Linked DNA regions of Homo sapiens: region 1 is linked to region 2. Evidence: promoter capture Hi-C in 16 types of primary human blood cells and fetal thymus (Javierre and others, 2016). All regions are on one chromosome and are shown on one strand. Each heading gives the region's core, a stretch centred on a gene start or on the middle of the fragment in contact. The rest is flanking DNA. Distances are from core to core; before and after follow the strand shown. Region 1 has its middle 14 kb from the start of KRTAP29-1. Region 2 holds the start of KRT12 (keratin 12).

Evidence for each region. The method cuts DNA at HindIII sites, captures the fragments that hold promoters and counts their contacts. A CHiCAGO score of 5 or more calls a contact.
Region 1: a fragment that was not itself captured here is called in contact with the fragment with the promoter of KRT12 in region 2 in 2 of 17 cell types (endothelial precursors and M0 macrophages); the score reaches 6.4 in endothelial precursors.

The regions. Positions count from the first base shown.
Region 1 is chr17:41,286,575-41,292,040 of GRCh38, reverse strand. No RefSeq gene overlaps it. Among named protein-coding and RNA genes, the nearest start is that of KRTAP29-1, 14 kb to the left of the region's middle. The HindIII fragment of the contact is 390 bases long and covers 3,671-4,060 here.
Region 2 is chr17:40,865,241-40,870,231 of GRCh38, reverse strand. It overlaps KRT12 (keratin 12), which reads left to right and starts at 3,009. Exons shown (of 8, transcript NM_000223.4): 1 at 3,009-3,612; 2 at 3,995-4,077. The coding sequence starts at 3,046. The region is part of intron 1 of LOC105371777 (a long non-coding RNA gene); the gene reads right to left. The HindIII fragment of the contact is 7,860 bases long and covers 1-4,991 here.

The sequences.
Region 1 (5,466 bases), core at 2,616-5,115, 420 kb before region 2:
TCCAAGTTAACAATACTGTCTCCTCCTAGCAATCTCTAGATGCTCTGAGCATCTGCAGAAAAGACTGTCCAGTGAGTCTGCCCCAAACTGTCTGCCTATCTGCCCCTCTAGCCCATCTCTTATCCAGGGCCTCAGTTTGAATTTAGGATCAAGTTCTTATTATTATTGGATAAAGTAAGACAGTGACATTAGAATAAAACATGTCTTGGCAAATTGTCACTGAATTGAATCCACCTTTCTGCAATGTTTTCATAAGCTACGATGAGAGTCCTTTTGAAATGCTCTGCTGAAATCCAGATTCATTTTGTACTGAATTTCGTTTATCAATGAATCTAGCAAAAATAAAAAGTTATTTTACATGGGTTGGTCTAAGTGGTACCATGTTTTATTTTTTGGCATTCACAAAAGATCATCTGAACAATTTATTCTAAAGTCTTTTTCTAAGATAAGATCAAGCTGATTGGTGTATGGTTTGCAGAAACTTGAAAAATTGGGATGGTCTTTGCTTGTCTCAACACGTTGAGTAGCTCTTGTTCTCTAACATTCCTCAAATATCAATATGTGGTTTATTTTCAGTCTCTAACTGCTCTGGGACCTAATGTGCACAGCATGCAGTGACATGAATTTATTTAGAGAATCTAAGCATTTGCAAAATTGATTTGTCCTTATCAATGTTTAGTCATTTTTCCAATTCAATTATTTCCTATTGTCTGAAAAGATAGACACCAAATAAGAGTGTTTCTAGCATAACCTTCACAGTCTTTGTGCCATACGCCACCGGGAGATCTCAGATCTTCTCTCAATCCCTGCTCTCAGCCTGAAATAAGGAGGCCAGGTTCCTTTTATAAGCCCAGATTTTCCTTGCCAGATACTGACATATTTACAGTTCATGGATCATGAATTGGATGAAGGGTGGATACAAATGCATCATACAAAAAATGCAACATCACACTGAGGAGCTTACTTCATATTAAACTTCTTTTAGTGCTTATAGCTCTCTTTATTCAGATCAAAAGGAATTAAAATCTGTCGCTCTTGTTGCAAGTTTTCTCATTTCAGTTCAGAAGGAAACATTTCAATTTTTCTTTTGTTATAAAAGTAACCTGTGCTTGAGGGGGAAAACAATGTAGGAAAAAAAATGGGAAGTCCTAGTTTCCAAACACCCCATCCACATCCCCCTCCCCAGGGACAAACTACTGGTTACTGCTTATTATGCCCTAATCTTGGTTTTCTCTTTCTCTTTACAGATGGTTGGTTACTATTCTCATTAGAAAGACTGAAGAAAAGGCTGGGCACAGTGGCTCATGCTTGTAATTCCAGCATTTTGGGAGGCTGAGGCGGGTGGATCATCTAAGGTCAGGAGTTCAAGACCAGCCTGGCCCATGTGGTGAAACCCTGTCTCTACTAAAGATGAAAGAAAGAAAGAAGGAAAGAAAGGAAGAAAGAAAGAAAGAAAGAAAAGAAAGAAAAGAAAGAAAGAAAGAAACCGGGCATGGTGGGCACCTGTAATCCCAGCTACTTGGGAGGCTGAGGCAGGAGAATTGCTTGAACCCAGGAGGTGGAGGTTGCGGTGAGCCGAGATCGCACCATTGCACTCCAGCCTGGGCAACAGGAGCGAAACTCTGTCTATTAAAAAAAAAAAAAAGACTAAAGAGAAATAAGAGGAGCGTTGATTTCTATATCGCAAGCACAGTACAAGATTATCAGTACAAAGCAATAGGCCTTTTCCTGTTTAATGGCATACTCACTTTGTTTACAACCATTTCATTAAAAAACACATTTTCACCATGTTTTCTGCTGTTTTGTTTTTGTTTTTGTTTTTGTTTTTTTCCAACCAAAAAGCATCTGGAGCTTCTTTCATTCTTCTCATGGACTCCTACCATCCCTGTTTAATGACTTGTTCACGAATCTTTCTTCCTAAGGCTAAACCTTTGAAGTTGTAGCTATGCAGTTATTTTTGATCTACAAAAATGGAAACTTCATATGGCTCAAACTCGTATTCTCTACTTGGCCTTTATTTTTTATTTTTTTAAGTAGAGATGGGGTTTCACCACGTTGGCCAGGCTGGTTTTGAACTCCTGACCTCAAGTGATCTGCCTGCCTTGCCCTCCCAAAGTGCTGGGATTACAGGCACAAGCCACCACGCCTGACCTACTTGGACTTTTTCAATCAAATCCCAGCCCATAGCTCCTTATAACTCCCTCTGGCATCTTTATAGTATACTGAAAAGTATTTTAAAAGGCCTTAGGATACTAATCACACACAGTAAAGTATTTTAAAAAGAATTAAGTCAACATAAGCCATCTTTTCTCCCAGTGTCTATTAGAATGAAATTTCCCCTGTCATTTTTCTGATTGTTTCCCTATCTATTTAATAACTAGGGTACACGTCAGACTTGTCCTGAGAAGTTCCATTCCTGAGGAAAAGCTATGCATGATTGTCTTATTTTGGAAATCTCAAATGTGGGATTCGTGTAATGGGCTTTGATAAAGGATGTTAAGGGGCAAAGTTAAGGCAGCCTTGTAAAGGTCAACTTGGAAACTAAATATCAGTAGGGAGTTATCTCAGTGGCTATAAGTTAAGACAACAGAATAAAAACTGATATTTGAGACATAAAAATGGCCCAAAAGATGGGTGTAATGAGCCCATGAGTCCCCAGTATAACATGAAACTTGCCCATCTGCGTGGTGTACGGCATTTGGTGTTACTCATGTTGGTCTCATCAGTTTGCCCACCTAAATAAATTCATCTTACAACAATAGTTCTATAACATCTAGAAGTAAGTTCCCTCCTGTAGCCCACTTCATCAGAAACTTCTTGGCAACACCTGAACCTAGCTGGAACTGGAAAAATATTTGATGGTAGTGATTTCCTGATAAATAGTCTAGAGCTGTTGCAAACAAAATCCAAGGATTGCTCTTTTTAGACACAGTCTTGCTCTGTCGCACAGTCTAGAGTGCAGTGGCTTGATGTTGGCTCACTGCAACCTCCGCCTCCTGGGTTCAAGCGATTCTCCTGCCTCAGCCTGCCGAGTAGCTGAGATTGCAGGTGCGTGTCACCACACCCCACTAATTTTTTGCATTTTTAATAGAGACGGGGTTTCACCACATTTGTCAGGCTGGTTTTGAACTCCTGACCTCAAGTGATCCACCCACCTTGGCCTCCCAAAGTGCTAGGATTACAGGTGTGAGCCACTGTGCCTGGTTAAAGGGTTGCTGTTTAAATGAACTATTTGCTTATGCTCTAAGTCAGCATGGATGGGATCCATAGATCTTTCCCGAAGTCTTAAAAATTAGTCTCTTGACTTAGTGGCATGGGAATAGATGTGAAAGAACTTTGTTTTTTTAAAAATATTAATTAATTAATTAATTTTTGAGACAAAGTCTTGCTCTTTCACCCAGGCTGGAGTGCAGTGGCGCGATCTCAGCTCACTGCAAACTCTGCCTCCCAGGTTCAAGTGATTTTCGTGCCTAAGCCTCCCGAGTAGCTGGGAATACAGGTGCACACTGCCAAGCCTGGTTAATTTTGTATTTTTAGTAGAGACGGGTTTTGCCATGTTGGCCAGGCTGGTCTCGAACTCCTGACCTCAAATGATCCTCCTGCCTTGGCCTTTCAAAGTGCTGGGATTACAGGTGTGAGCCACTGTGCCAGGCCAAAATGGGAAAAAGCTTTGTAAAATATAAAATATCCTTTAAATTTAAGAGCTTATGAAGGATATACTGCACACATAATCTAGGTCACGAAAGGATATGCAAGATGAGTATAGATTACTAGGTGATAAATTGGGAAATGCCTTAGTTGCAAAGAAGATAATTCAAATTATAAATACAATGAAGAAATGTGCAGGAAAGATATTTTAGAGGTGGCAAAATTAACCAGTTATTAAGACAATCAGCAGAGGTGGTGGACAGGGATGGTGAATCTCATGCATGTCCAATTTCTAGTGATACTCATTAGTTAAATCCAAACCCTCACTAGTGGCCATGAAGTCCAATGTTTCTTTAAAAAGGCAGTAAGGACCAATGAAGATTTTTTTCCTTGTCCATAGTTTAGTCAAGCTTCTGAACCTTCTCATAGGCCCATGGGTGCACTTCCTTGTAAAATCCAGTTTTGTAAAATTTTAGCAAAGAGCCCTGCTAAATAGGTTTAGCAAGAACTCCCCATCCTCGATATCTGATCACCCTTAATAGCGGATCAGATCTCTTATCTGCCACCATTCTCCAAGTGATGTTTGATCACCCTCGCCTGTCTTCAGCAAGAGCACTTTTAGGTCAGTTTAGCCAAAATTTCCCTACTGGTGATGCTTCCTCTTAGTAATTTTCCATCCACTGACCGCCACCCTGCTCCTTGGCTGTAAATTCTCACTTGCCCATGCTATGTTAGGAGATGAGTCCAATCTCTGTCTCCCAATGCAAGACCCTGTTATGGTGGTTCCTTTGTTTACTGCAGTGTTCCTGAATAAAGTCTCCCTTACCAGGCTTTCACAAGTGCCATTGAATAATTTTTTTTTTAACAAGACTATGATGAATTTTTAAAAGCCAAATCCCTATTGTTTCCCTGATAACATATTATTTCACCAGAAAAATAAATATAAGAAATTCATTTTAAATGTATCTCAAACCATCAGAAAAGGGCTTAACCTTATTGAACTGAGCTACTAGGAAAGAGGAGGAAAGAAGAAGAGTGGAAACCATCGGTCATTCAGTGCAAGCATGTCCGGCTGTCACCAATAAGCTAGCTGTACCTGTCTTAGGACAGAGCTGTATGAAGGAAGTTAATATTTACCAGTTAAAAGAAAAACGAAAGAGGAAAACAGTGATTCAGCACTAAACAGAATTAAGAGTCAGTCATTTGAAATATAGAAAGCCCTAGAAATACCATTACAAACAACAATAATAACAATAAGCCCCCTATTGTATAATAACAAATTGTGCAATAGGTAAAAGATAGATTGTTTAAAGTCTTCTTGGATGTTGTAAGTTATTTTCAGGGCCAAAAAGGAAAAAACTGCTCTTGCAATTCAAGTTCGGGTATATATTTTGCAAATGCTGGCATGCTCAATGCTTCCTGAAGGAGAGGGAGCTATCCTTATTTTGATCAGTTCAGATTGAATGAAAATTTTCTCTGATGCTAATATAGATCCAGTCTCCCAAATTTTAGGTTCCCCACGATTCTTCAAACATCACCAATAAGAGTTCAATGTTCTTGGCTGGGTGTGGTGGCTCACACCTGTAATCCCAGCACTTTGGGAGGCCAGTGTGGGCCTCCCAAAGATCATGAGGTCAAGAGATCGAGACCATCCTGGCCAACATGGTGAAACATGGGCATGGTGGCGGGCACCTGTAATCCCAGCTACTCAGGAGGCTGAAGCAGGAGAATTGCTTGAACCTTGGAGGTGGAGGTTGCAGTGAGCCGAGATCGCACCACTGCACTCCAGCCTGGTGACAGAGCGAGACTTATCTCAAA
Region 2 (4,991 bases), core at 1,760-4,259:
GGCTGCAGAAGATCCCTCTGCAGGGAGCACCTGCACACTGGCACCAAGCAAAGACATCTGAGTGCATGTTTCTGGGTGTGTGTGTGTGCATGCATGTGTACATTAGAATGAGAGTAACATCTGAATGTGTCTACATTGTGAATCCACGAATACTTAAATTATTATACTTTGTAGCTTGCCTTTATATTGATACACTCTTTTTTGATTTTGGAAAAATTTCCTCATACATAACACACATTAATGGCCCAGCAGCTTGATTTATCAAGAGAGAAATCAATAAGCATATATTGAATGCTGACTTTGTCCAAGACACTGGGCAAATGGACTAGACATTGAAGAATGGAGGTAACAGCAGACCTAGTACTTGAATACTTTCATGTTGGCTTGGTTGAAATTCTTGATTTAATTTTCAAAAAGACCACATCATTTTGACATAATTCAAGTTGTGTAACAGTTACAGGCTTACTTCACATATTATCTCTGCTATTGAAGTGTCCAAAAAAATCAGGTTATTGTTTTAGTAAGAGAAACAAAAAGTATTGCATATGCTTATGGAAAAACCTTAAACAATAGCCACATATTTGCTAATTTTTATGGTTGATTGTTTGTATTAAGTAAGTAACATCTCAATGATCTCACAGGTATCCAATAATTTTGCTGAGAAATTAATCTTTACCAGATAGATTCAATCTCCACTTTAAAATGTATAGAAAGCCTCCTTTTTGGGAATTAAACATTGGGCACTCATGGACATATAGAATGCCAACAATAGACACTGGGAATTACTGTGGGGAGCAAAGGTTAAACAACTATTGGGTACTATGCTTACTACCTGGGTGATGAGATGAGTCGTACCCCAAACCTCAGCATCATGAAATATACACACGTAACAAACCTGCACATGTACCTCCTGAATCTAAAATTAAAGTTGAAATTTTTTAAAAAAAATCCAGTAGTGGTAAATAAATAAAAATAAAAATCTTCCTTTTTATGAAAGGTATGTATTATTAAATCAAATAAGAATTCAATTTTATTTTAGAAATCTAGAATACTTGTGATATTTTTAAAACTTTTCCTTAGAATAAAATAAAACGCAGAATCCAAATATACCAAATTGAAAAGGAGTTTTAGTGGCCATCTATAAGCAAACAGAGGTCCCTGATGGAGAAATGAAGGCCCTGTTTCCCACGAGGTAGGAAATGTATCATTACAATGATTTTAATGTATTTTATTTCAATAAATCCATTCTAGTCAAAATACATATATGTCTATAGCACACACAGTCAGTGTATACCTTATTAATAAAATTCAGTATAAACATCTTTGCAAAAAAACTGTTATTTACACCCAGAAATTTTATTTCCTATCATCAAATACAGAGCAAACTGAATTTAGAAATCTGAATCCAACAAAGGATTTCGAAGAATCCACAATCCATGTTCTGTACCCAATTATTAAAGTTCAAGTGATAGATAAGTATATAATCTTAAGAGAAAAGCAGATTATAAAATCTTATATTGAATCAATTATGTTCAAAAATGTATATAAAATACTCATATATACATACATCTTCTTTATGTTTTCTGCATCTTCTAAATTTCCTACTATAAATACATAGAGAGCTATATTTAAAAAAAAACTATAGAACTATTTTGCAATGAGACATGTAGAGAATTGGGCCATCATCTCAAAGAAAACATGTAAAAGAAAAATCCTTATTCCTTCTTATCCAATCAAAATGCTCACAATTTAAATTCCTAAGGGAATTCCACCACCCTGGAATTGTACTACTCGGTTTCCAGGTATCTACAACTCTCTCTGAAAGCAGGCTTCTTTCAAGTTAATGCATTTCCTGTAAGAACGTTAGTTCTCATGTTCAATATATAAGCCATATCAATTTCAAAGATAAATAATATACCAAACAAGAAAGTATAAGAACTTTATGTCTTAAAAATTAAAGATACTGGATATAATTCCTTGAAGCACGCTTTGCAAAGTTTTCACAACAAAGTTTAAAATATAACATTTAATTTATTCTATATTGTAAAATTTATCCTTTTTCATCATAGCAGTCAACTGAAATGGTTCACTAGCCTCTTAAACTTGGGGTTTTAATCATTTCTTAATTTGAACTGTGTTTCCACTTTCTCCTTATTGATAATGGCAACAAAATCTGAAGTGTTTACACAATCCATTCAACTAGTCAACACATTTATTGAGCAACCATTACAGGCAATATCTGTTGAAGGAATAAACATAGTAAATGCTGAGTGTAGAGCAGTGAGCAATCAGACAAGGTAAAACTGCTAAAACAACTATAATAAACTCTACTATAAACAACTGTACTCAAAAATAGTACTTTTCCAAGTTGAAGAATAAGAGGGAAAAGAAACATGCAACATCCTAAAGCCAAGGTTTTAAAATCCTTGAAAATGCAAATTCTAGTATCCATCTGGAAAATATATTTATTCTCCACCTTTCACCAGTGCATTTCACAGCTGCTTCTGAAGCTGTATTCCACTAAAAGGTATACTTGATCATGACTGGATTTTACATTGGATTGGTTTTTCCAAAGGAAACAAATGGTTTACACTGGATTTTCCAAAGGAAACAAACAGAAAAGATCAGGGAAGAACTTAAAAAAGCATAAGGTTTAGGAAGAAGTATTTAACGTATCCATTCAGCAATCGCTCATTATCTTCCTACTGTGAACAAGACGCTAGGCAGTGCTGGGAATACAGGCAACAGACTAATTTGGAGAAGAAAAATTCCTTATGACAAGCAGACTCTACTCCACCCAGCTTTCTTTTTCATATAACAAATATTTAATGGAAATGATTATTCGATTATTTCTGTATCAATGAATTTTCATTATACATAAATCATTCACTTGTTGAGCTGGCCAAAAACCTGGGGGGAGGATCCAATTTTGAGTGGAGAAAGTGAACTTTTCAACTGCGACACCCATCTTGCAGCCTATATAAGTTTAGCTTTCTGGCTTGCTGGCACAACTTCCTCTCCAGTTGTGGCCACCTTCCCCAGGCCATGGATCTCTCCAACAACACCATGTCACTCTCAGTGCGCACCCCCGGACTGTCCCGGCGGCTCTCCTCGCAGAGTGTGATAGGCAGACCCAGGGGCATGTCTGCTTCCAGTGTTGGAAGTGGTTATGGGGGAAGTGCCTTTGGCTTTGGAGCCAGCTGTGGGGGAGGCTTTTCTGCTGCTTCCATGTTTGGTTCTAGTTCCGGCTTTGGGGGTGGCTCCGGAAGTTCCATGGCAGGAGGACTGGGTGCTGGTTATGGGAGAGCCCTGGGTGGAGGTAGCTTTGGAGGGCTGGGGATGGGATTTGGGGGCAGCCCAGGAGGTGGCTCTCTAGGTATTCTCTCGGGCAATGATGGAGGCCTTCTTTCTGGATCAGAAAAAGAAACTATGCAAAATCTTAATGATAGATTAGCTTCCTACCTGGATAAGGTGCGAGCTCTAGAAGAGGCTAATACTGAGCTAGAAAATAAAATTCGAGAATGGTATGAAACACGAGGAACTGGGACTGCAGATGCTTCACAGAGCGATTACAGCAAATATTATCCACTGATTGAAGACCTCAGGAATAAGGTAAGATCTCTTTTGGAGGCGCTTTGGGAATTTTTTTTTTCCTTTTTACCATTACAATGTTTTACAGTGATAATCACCTACAACTTTGATATTTTCCAATTTAGCTGTACTTGCAGCAATTTTCTCATCCCAGGTTGTTTCACTCCACTTTATCATTTACTAAGAAATGATTGTATTTCCATTATCTTTCTGTAGGAAATCTGCATTTCTTTACTTCTCAATATTATTTTATACAGATATTGTCTTAGAAAAATGAAACTGTCTTAAACTCTAAATAAAACAGCATTTAATATCACCATTTTCACCTTTGTGTCAAAAATATATTTGTATAATACTAGTCTTTTAGGGCTTCAATCTTGTGTGTGTCCCTCTCTTTTGCCAGATCATTTCAGCCAGCATTGGAAATGCCCAGCTCCTCTTGCAGATTGACAATGCGAGACTAGCTGCTGAGGACTTCAGGATGAAGTGAGTCGAATAAACTGAAGATCATGGGCGTGTCCCACCATGTCTTCTGTCCTACTGTCCTGCCTTCATTGATATAAAATCTTCTGAAGTTCACATACTCCATATATTTACTGTTTTGGTAAATTCACATAGGGTGTTCTAGAAAGTAATTAGAATCTAATGCAATTCAGATTAAATGTCCTTAAATTATAAGTTACTTAAACCCAGGGCTATGGATCACGATATTTGTAGTGTGCTATTGACTCAACTCATGATGTGACTGACACCATAATCCTACCAGTGTCCTAAACCTCAATTTTCTTTTTTTGTTTTTTGTTTTTTGTTTTTGAGATGGAGTCTCGCTCTGTCACCCAGGCTGGAGTGCAGTGACGCGATCTCGGCTCACTGCAACCCCTGCCTCCCAGGTTCAAGTGATTCTCCTGCCTCAGCCTCCCGAGTAGCTGGGATTACAGGCGGCTGCCACCGTGCCCAGCTAATTATTGTATTTTTAGTAGAGACGGGGTTTCACTATCTTGGCCAGGCTGGTCTCAAACTCCTGACCTCATGATCCACCCGCCTCTAAACCTCAATTTTCAATGTATCAACCATTGTTTTCCTGATGACACATACAATGGAAAGATTAACCATGTACTAATTTTTATATTCCTTCCTCCTTTTCCATGCTCAACTCTCCCAGATATAGGTAAGAAATACTAATTTCCTTTTTGCTTCACAAAATTTCTACACAGGAAGTTGCAATGGCCATGGTTCTGAACCTGTAAAATCTTAGTCAAAGCCACTAAAGAAGTATCAGTGTTTTAAGTTAAATCATGAAGAACGTTAAGCAAAAAGAGTAACTTATTTTCAACGGCTTTTAGAAATTCCACTTAGAGAGGGGCTGCTGCTATTTACAGCCACGGCAGCCAGCCAAAGGG